2 separate regions of the Homo sapiens genome follow, and region 1 is linked to region 2. Evidence: promoter capture Hi-C in human tissues and cell types (Jung and others, 2019). All regions are on one chromosome and are shown on one strand. Each heading gives the region's core, a stretch centred on a gene start or on the middle of the fragment in contact. The rest is flanking DNA. Distances are from core to core; before and after follow the strand shown.

Region 1 (3,505 bases), core at 335-2,834, 250 kb after region 2:
AAAAGCCTGCCATTCTCTTGACCCACATGCACGTCCTGCCCCCTCCAAGGCTGCTAGTTCCTTTAGGGGCAAAATTGTGAAAGAGTAGTCTAAACCTTCTTCCTCTTCTTACCTCCACTTCTTTCTTACCTTATTCCCATGTGGATTCTACCCTCACTCAGGCCTCTAGAACGGTTCCTCTACGGCAGTGGTTCCCAATCTTGACTACGTGTTTTTTTAAAAAAAGTCCTCCACCTGGGCCTGCCACCAAGGATTTTTCTTTAATTGACCTCAGATGGGGTTGAGGCCTTGGGAACTGGCCAGAACTTCCCGTGCTCCTAACTTGCAGCCGGGGTTAAGAACTACTCCTCTGAAGCCCCCAGTGCCTGCGCTTTTAGCCCGACGGACAAGTTTCTGCCCTTCCATCCTGTGACCTCCAGCAGGGCCTGACCATGTGAGTTTTCTGTGGCTGCCGTGACAAGTTGCCACACCCTGCATGGCTTCAACCAACAGAAACGTGTGCCCTGGCAGTTCTGGGGGCCAGAAGTCCAACATCAAGATATCATCAGAGCCACATGCCCACTGAAGGCTCTCGGGGGAATCCATTCCTTGCCTCTTCTGGTTGCTGGTGGCTCTAGGCATTCCTTGGCTTGTGGCTGCATCATTCCAGTCTCTGCCTCTGAGGTCACGTTGCTGCTTCCTCTTGTGTGTGTTTCTCTTAAAACTCTCTGCTTCTGTCTTATAAGGATACATGTGATTGCATCTAGGGCCCAACCAGATAATCCAGGATAAACTCTTCCTGTCAAGACATTTAATAATCACACTTTGCCATATAAGGTAATTTTTTTTTTTTTTTTGAGGTGGAGTTTTGCACTTTCACCCAGGCTGGAGTAAAGTGATTTAATCTCGGCTCACTGGAATCTCTGCCCCCAGGTTCAAGCAATTCTCCTGCCTCAGCCTCCTGAGTAGCTGGGATTATAGGTACCTGCCACCATGCCCAGCTAACTTTTGTATTTTTAGTAGACATGGGGTTTCACCATGTTGGCCAGGCTGGTCTCGAACTCCTGACCTCAGGTGATCCACCCGCCATAAGTTAATATTTTTTTTTTGAGAGGGAGTATTGCTCTGTTGCCCAGGCTGGAGTGCTAGTGGCTCAATCTCGGCTCACTGCAACCTCCGCCTCCCAGGTTCAAATGATTCTCCTACCTCAGTCTCCTGAGTAGCTGGGACTACAGGTGCATGCCACCATGCCTGGCTGATTTTTGTATTTTTAATAGAGAGGGGATTTCACCATGTTGGCCAGGCTGGTGTTGAACTCCTAACCTCAAGTGATCCACCCACCTCAGCCTCCCAAAGTGTTGGGATTACAGGCATGAACCACCACGCCCGACCCATATAAGGTAATATTTACAGGTTCTGGGGATTAGGATTAGCATGTAGACAGCTTTGTGGGGGCCACCATTCAGCCCACTATGCTAACCCTGTGAACCGTTGCTCGCTTCTCCTTGACATCTGACGGCCTGGCCTTCTGCATACCACACACCCTCCCACCTCTCTGGCCACAGTTCTGTAGGCTCAGCCTCCTCCGTAAGGCCATTAAGTGCTTGTGCTGGTCAAAGTTTCATCCTAGGCCTTTTCCTTACCTCCCTTGATATTTTCTCCCTAGGTGAGCTCCTTCAAGCCCACAGCTTCTGTGCTTACCCACACTCCTACCTACATTCCCAGCTTGGGCTTCTCAGGCCAGCTCTAGACTCTTGTATCCCACTGGGTTCTTCCACTTACCTTTGGATATCTCAAAGGCATCTCCAGTTGGCTGGGCACGATGGTTCACACCTGTAACCCCAGCACTTTGGGAGGCCGAGGTGGGCAGATCACTTGAGGTCAGGAGTTCAAGACCAGCCTGGCCAATATGGTGAAACCCCATCTCTACTAAAAATACAAAAATTAGCTGGGCATGGTGGTGGGTGCCTGTAGTCCCAACTACTCGGGAGGCTGAGGCAGGAGAATCGCTTGAACCCGGGAGGTGGAGGTTTCCGTGAGCTGAGCTGGAGCCACTGCACTCCAGCCTGGGCAACAGAGTGAAACTCCGTCTTAAAAAAACAAAAAACAAAAGGTGTCTCTAGTGTAACATAACTAAAACCAAACCAATCATGCCTCCCTCCCCCGCATCCTCCCTCCTGGAGGGAGCTCCAGGACTTGGTCTTCTCTTCCAGAGTTCTCTGTCTCAAACTGCGGGAATTGCTCCCCACCCAGGCCTAACCTGAAGTGTGAGCCTTGGCATCTCTTTCTATCCACCTGTTTTTCCTCTATGCACCTCACAACCCTGGTCCAAGCCACCGTCATCTTTCAAATGGCTGCAGTAGCCTCTAACTGGCCTTGGAGGAGCCATCCTCTTTCTCTAACCAGCTGCCAACCCTGCAATGGCCTCTGTGTGCTTTCCAGATAAAGCCTGACTCCTCGTGGCCCGCACAGCCCTGCCTGGGTGGTCCTATCCTGCAGCCTCTCCAGTACCATGAACCCTCCCTTCTCTGAACCTCTATTTAATCCATTTCATATACCCCGTTTTCTCCTGCCATAGGGCCTTGCACATGCTGTTCCTTCTGCCTGGAATTTTCTTCCTGCCTCCCTCCGCACCCCTGCCTTGTGTTGTGGGTTCCTCGCTATCCTCTAGCTTTTCGCTCAGGCTCATTGTTGGCCCTCTAGATGTATTCACTTCTCTTGTTTGTTACCCTCTGTCATAGGACTGTGTTCGTACTTCCCAAGGAGTCGTCTTGGTTTGTGACTGTACATTTTCCCATGTGACATTTGCTTAATGCCTCTCCCACTCTGGGGCCTGTACAAGCCCCAGGAACAGGACTTGGACCCTCCTGTTTAACTCTACAATCTAGCATCCAGCAGGAGCGCAGGCCTTCGTTGACTTTTATTTTATTCTTATTTTTTATTTTTGAGATGCAGTTTCGCTCTTGTCGCCCAGGCTGGAGTGCAGTGGCGTAATCTCGGCTCACTGCAGCCTCTGCCTCCCAGGTTCAGGTGATTCTCCTGTCTCAGCCTCCCAAGTAGCTGGGATTACAGGTGTGCGCCACCACGCCTGGCTAATTTTTTGCATTTTTAGTAGAGATGGGGTTTCACCATGTTGGCCAGGCTGGTCTCAAACTCCTGGCCTCAGGTGATCCACCCACCTCGGCCTCCCAAAGTGGCTGGATTACAGGCGTGAGCCCCCATGCCCAGCCTTCATTGACTTTTAGTTGACAACTATTTAGCATTTGCTATGTGCCAAGAACTCCCTGCCTACTAATGCAGTTAACCCTCATGAAGCCTAGAAGGAAGGACTGCCATTCTCCCCACTTAACAGATGAGGATGCCGAGGCACAGGAAGTGAAGTGACTTTCTCAGGGTCAAGCAGGGAGTGAGTGGAGGAGCCGAGATTCCAGCTCTAACCGCATGATGCTCTATACAGTGTGACTCCGGCTCTCTGGCTGGGCCCTCTCCATAGCCCTGTGAGGGTTAAGGATAGAAAACAGAGGCT
Region 2 (3,722 bases), core at 1-2,500:
GATTTTATGTTCATAGCATCATCTTGCCAAATTCCATCTCCCACACAGGGCAAGCAAAATCAGGACCTGATGCTATCTAGCCTTACCAAAGAGAAATGCAATGAAGGCAACGACAAGAAACATGTATTTTACAGAAAGGTTGGCAAATTGCTTACCAAGGCTGCCACCTCTGAAAACCCCATTATATGGGAGTTCTCCATTTGCGGCAAAGATGCACTCACCTTCCCACCTCTTCTTCCCTCCGCTCCCCACCCCCCGACCAGGAAGCCACCGGGCAAATTTCAGACCGAAAAACGTGCTAACACACAATATGGGGGAATTTGGGGTAAAGACACAAAAGAATCTGGCATTAAATGACGGTAAATACTGTGAGAAAATACTCCGATTCTCACCCCCTGATATTTTTTCCTGGGGATCCGGCCTGACTCAGTAACCGGCTCCAACAAACAGATTTTCTTGATTCAAACCCAATTCCCTTCCTAGGGAATCTTGGGTCCTGCCAGGCTCCATAACCAGTGAAGGATGATGAAATGGTTTTACTGCAAAATGGGAGGGGGTTCCCCCACTGCTGTCTCCCAAGGTTAAACCCCTTACTCATCCAGGAGGAGCCAAACACGGGGACTGGGGCTAGAAAACTCATCCGCGTTTGATTAAATTTTAATTTCTGGAAACCAGAAAGCACGGAGCAGAGGTGACAGGGCTGAAGGGGACGTTCTTGCCGACCAAGACGCAGGGAGGGGTCGCGTGGGGCCCGAAGCAGATAGTGAGGGAGGGTCCGGGATCCCCGGCTCCGCTGTCCCTTACGGCACAGTACGGAGTTGCACCCCGCCCGGCCGGCAGGACCTCAGGCGGCCCGAGCCTCTCCAAGAGGTAAAGGGCCCGGCCCCGGAAACAGGGAGGGGCCGCTGCGAGGTCTGGCCTCGCCGCCGGCGGCCGCGCGGAGCGAAAGAGGCAGCGCGCCGCTACCCCACGGGGCCCACCCACTGGGCCGCCGTCGTCGCAGCAGCCAGAGAGGGGCTTCGAGTTTGGGCCCCCGGGGGCCCCGGTCGGACCCCGCGCCGCACTCACCGTGGGAGGGCTGCAGGGAACAAAGACCCTTCCGAGCGAAGCTCCGAGCGAGATGACCTCTTCCTTCCTAAGCCCACTACTCAGGCGGCGGCAGCGGTGCCTGCAGTGGCTGCAGCGGCGGCGGCGGCGGCGACTACCCCGGCTCCGGAATCGGCGGCGGCGGTGGCGGTAGCTCCACTTCCGCTCCGATCGCCACTTCCGCTCCGGTCCTGGCCGCGCCCCGCCCCAAACCGTGTTCTCATTGGGCAAGCGAGGCACGGGGTTGCCACGGCCCCACGGGAGGGGCGCAGACGGAAGGGAGGAGGAAGAAGAGCGAAAGGCAGGGTTGCAGGGGCCGGGGCAGGGCGGATGGCCGGGGGAGGGACCCAGGAGGAGGTGGGCGGAGAAGAAGGAAATGGGGCGGGGGAGCGGGAAAAGGAGGTGGGAGGAGAGAGGGCGGAGCTGGGGGTGGTCAAGATACGGGCTGTGTGGGAATAAGGAGGACTAGGAGTGTGGTCTGGATGGGGATTGCCCTTTCTGCTGGGACTGGAAACGCGCCAGGGCCAGTCCCGGAGATTCGAGGTTTAGCAGTTCCCCCTCCACCCCGAAAGTAATCCTCACTGGGTCGGAGGCCGATGTCAGTCCTCTTACTGTGTGCTTTGGTAATGCTGGAGCCAGGGAAGAACAGAAATTGCTCATCCCTCAATGTTCATTTAATCCTTTCAATCCTTCAGGGTACTTACCTTTTCCTTCTTTGGTAGACTGAAGAGGCCACGTGAAGTGCCAGGAATCCAATGCACAAACGTCTTTTTAAAAAACCTGTGTAGGGTCGAGCGCAGTGGTTCGCGCCTGTAATCTCAGCACTTTGGGAAGCTGAGGTGAGAGGATTGCTTGAGGCCGGGAGTTGTAGGCTGCAGTGAGCTATGGTCATGCCACTGCACTCCAACCTGGGAGACAGAGTGAGACCCTGTCTCCAAAAAAAACCCACAAAAATCTGTGTACATGATTTCTTCTTTAAGATGCCCCCTCGTTGAGGAAGTTCAGGGAAGGAAACAGGCCTCCATGGCTCCCCTCCCCTCCATGACTGCTCTCACAATTACCAACATTCTACTCCTCTGAAGGTAGTTGATTTTGTTTTGTTTTGTTTTGTTTTGTTTTCTGTTTTTGAGACAGAGTCTCTTTCTGTCGCCCAGGCAGTGTCACAATCTTGGCTCACTGCAATCTCTGCCTCCCAGGTTCAAGCAATTCTCCTGCCTCAGCCTCCTGAGTAGCTGGGATAACAGGTGCATGCCACCACTCTCGGCTAGTTTTTGTATTTTTAGTAGACACGGGGCTTCGCCATATTGGCCGGGCTGGTCTCAAACTCCTGACCTCAGGTGATCCACCCGCCTCAGCCTCCCAAAGTGCTGGGATTACAGACATGAACCACCTCGACCGGCTTCAAGGTAGTTGATTTTTAAACTCAGTCCTTCAAAATGCCTCTCGCCTTCCCTCTCTCCTGTTCATTTATTCTTTCAACAAATGTTGAACAGGCTTTTTGCTTAGTGCTGGAGACACAGCAATGAACAAGGCAGGTGGGGCCCTGCTGTCTTGGAGTTTGCAGTCGGGTAGGAGAAAAAGCCAAGTAAATAGGCCTTTGCCGTCTTGCCTTTACCCTTACTTAGCTAAATGACAGACTTCTAATTCACCATTTGGTCTCAGCCTCGCCCGTCAACTGCCAAGTGATCTTTTAAAAATACCATTCTAATCGTGTCCTGTTCTTGCTTAAATTATTTAGTGTGCACTCAGACCTAGATGACAATATATAAGTTCCTTGAGTGTGACAATCAGGGTTCTCCAAAAGCTGCCCTTATCCTTTAGCTGCTATTTCTCCCCCATCGTAAATACCCCAATTCAATTGGATGATTCCTTACCCTCCCAATATGCCATCTCCAGTATTTCTAAGCAGTTTGACTTAGTTGCCAACACTTTTTTAAACTGAAAAGTTTCTGTGTGAACAGAAATCTGCCTCTCTGCCTTGTCTGGTAACACTGTGTCCACATTTCTGTGTGGCAACAATTGGCTGAAGCCAAGGAGTGGCTGCCTGTTCTAGACTGGGCATGGACTTTCCCAAATGCCAGGGACCCTTCTCGACCTGAGTCTGCTTTTGTCACTTATGTTATCTGTCATGTAGGCATGTGTGCCAGTGACCCCTGTACTGTGCCACCTTTTAAGTTGAACAAGATTGAGAACGTGTTGTGTAACGTAAACAGCATGGTTTTGGGTCAAAACCATTGGATTTGAATCCTGGAGAGGTTAGTGCAAAAACTTCCCCATGAGGATCGTCTTTGGCAGACCCTAGACCAGTAATCTAGAGACTACTCAGGCTAAGTAACTTTTAATGTCACAAGACTGTGCCTTATGCCGTCATCCAGAAAATAGCCTAATGGACCAGAGGGCTAATAATGATTATACCACAAATGACATCAACAGTGCATTGAGGGAACAGAAGTGCCCTTTGTCAGGCATTCCTAGGTGCCTGTTAAAGGGTTCAATGGATTAGCTTATTTCACCATCTCTGCATTCTAGGCCAAGCGTCAGCAAACCACAGCTATGAACTGACAGCGATACAGATAAATGTTAAAATACAATGTGGTAGGTGCAACCATAGAAATAAATATATGTGCAGGGTATTA

The links. The method cuts DNA at HindIII sites, captures the fragments that hold promoters and counts their contacts. A contact is called where the count stands out against the background at its distance.
Region 1: a fragment that was not itself captured here is called in contact with the fragment with the promoter of YWHAB in region 2 in 1 of the 25 tissues and cell types used here (dorsolateral prefrontal cortex).

The regions. Positions count from the first base shown.
Region 1 is chr20:44,637,998-44,641,502 of GRCh38, reverse strand. All of the region lies in intron 1 of ADA (adenosine deaminase), which reads left to right. Among named protein-coding and RNA genes, the nearest start is that of ADA, 12 kb to the left of the region's middle. RefSeq lists an enhancer at 1-3,505. The HindIII fragment of the contact is 5,650 bases long and covers 1-3,505 here.
Region 2 is chr20:44,883,233-44,886,954 of GRCh38, reverse strand. It overlaps YWHAB (tyrosine 3-monooxygenase/tryptophan 5-monooxygenase activation protein beta), which reads right to left and starts at 1,250. Exons shown (of 6, transcript NM_139323.4): 1 at 1,069-1,250. RefSeq lists silencers at 957-1,506, 1,567-1,626 and an enhancer at 904-1,520. The HindIII fragment of the contact is 9,752 bases long and covers 1-3,722 here.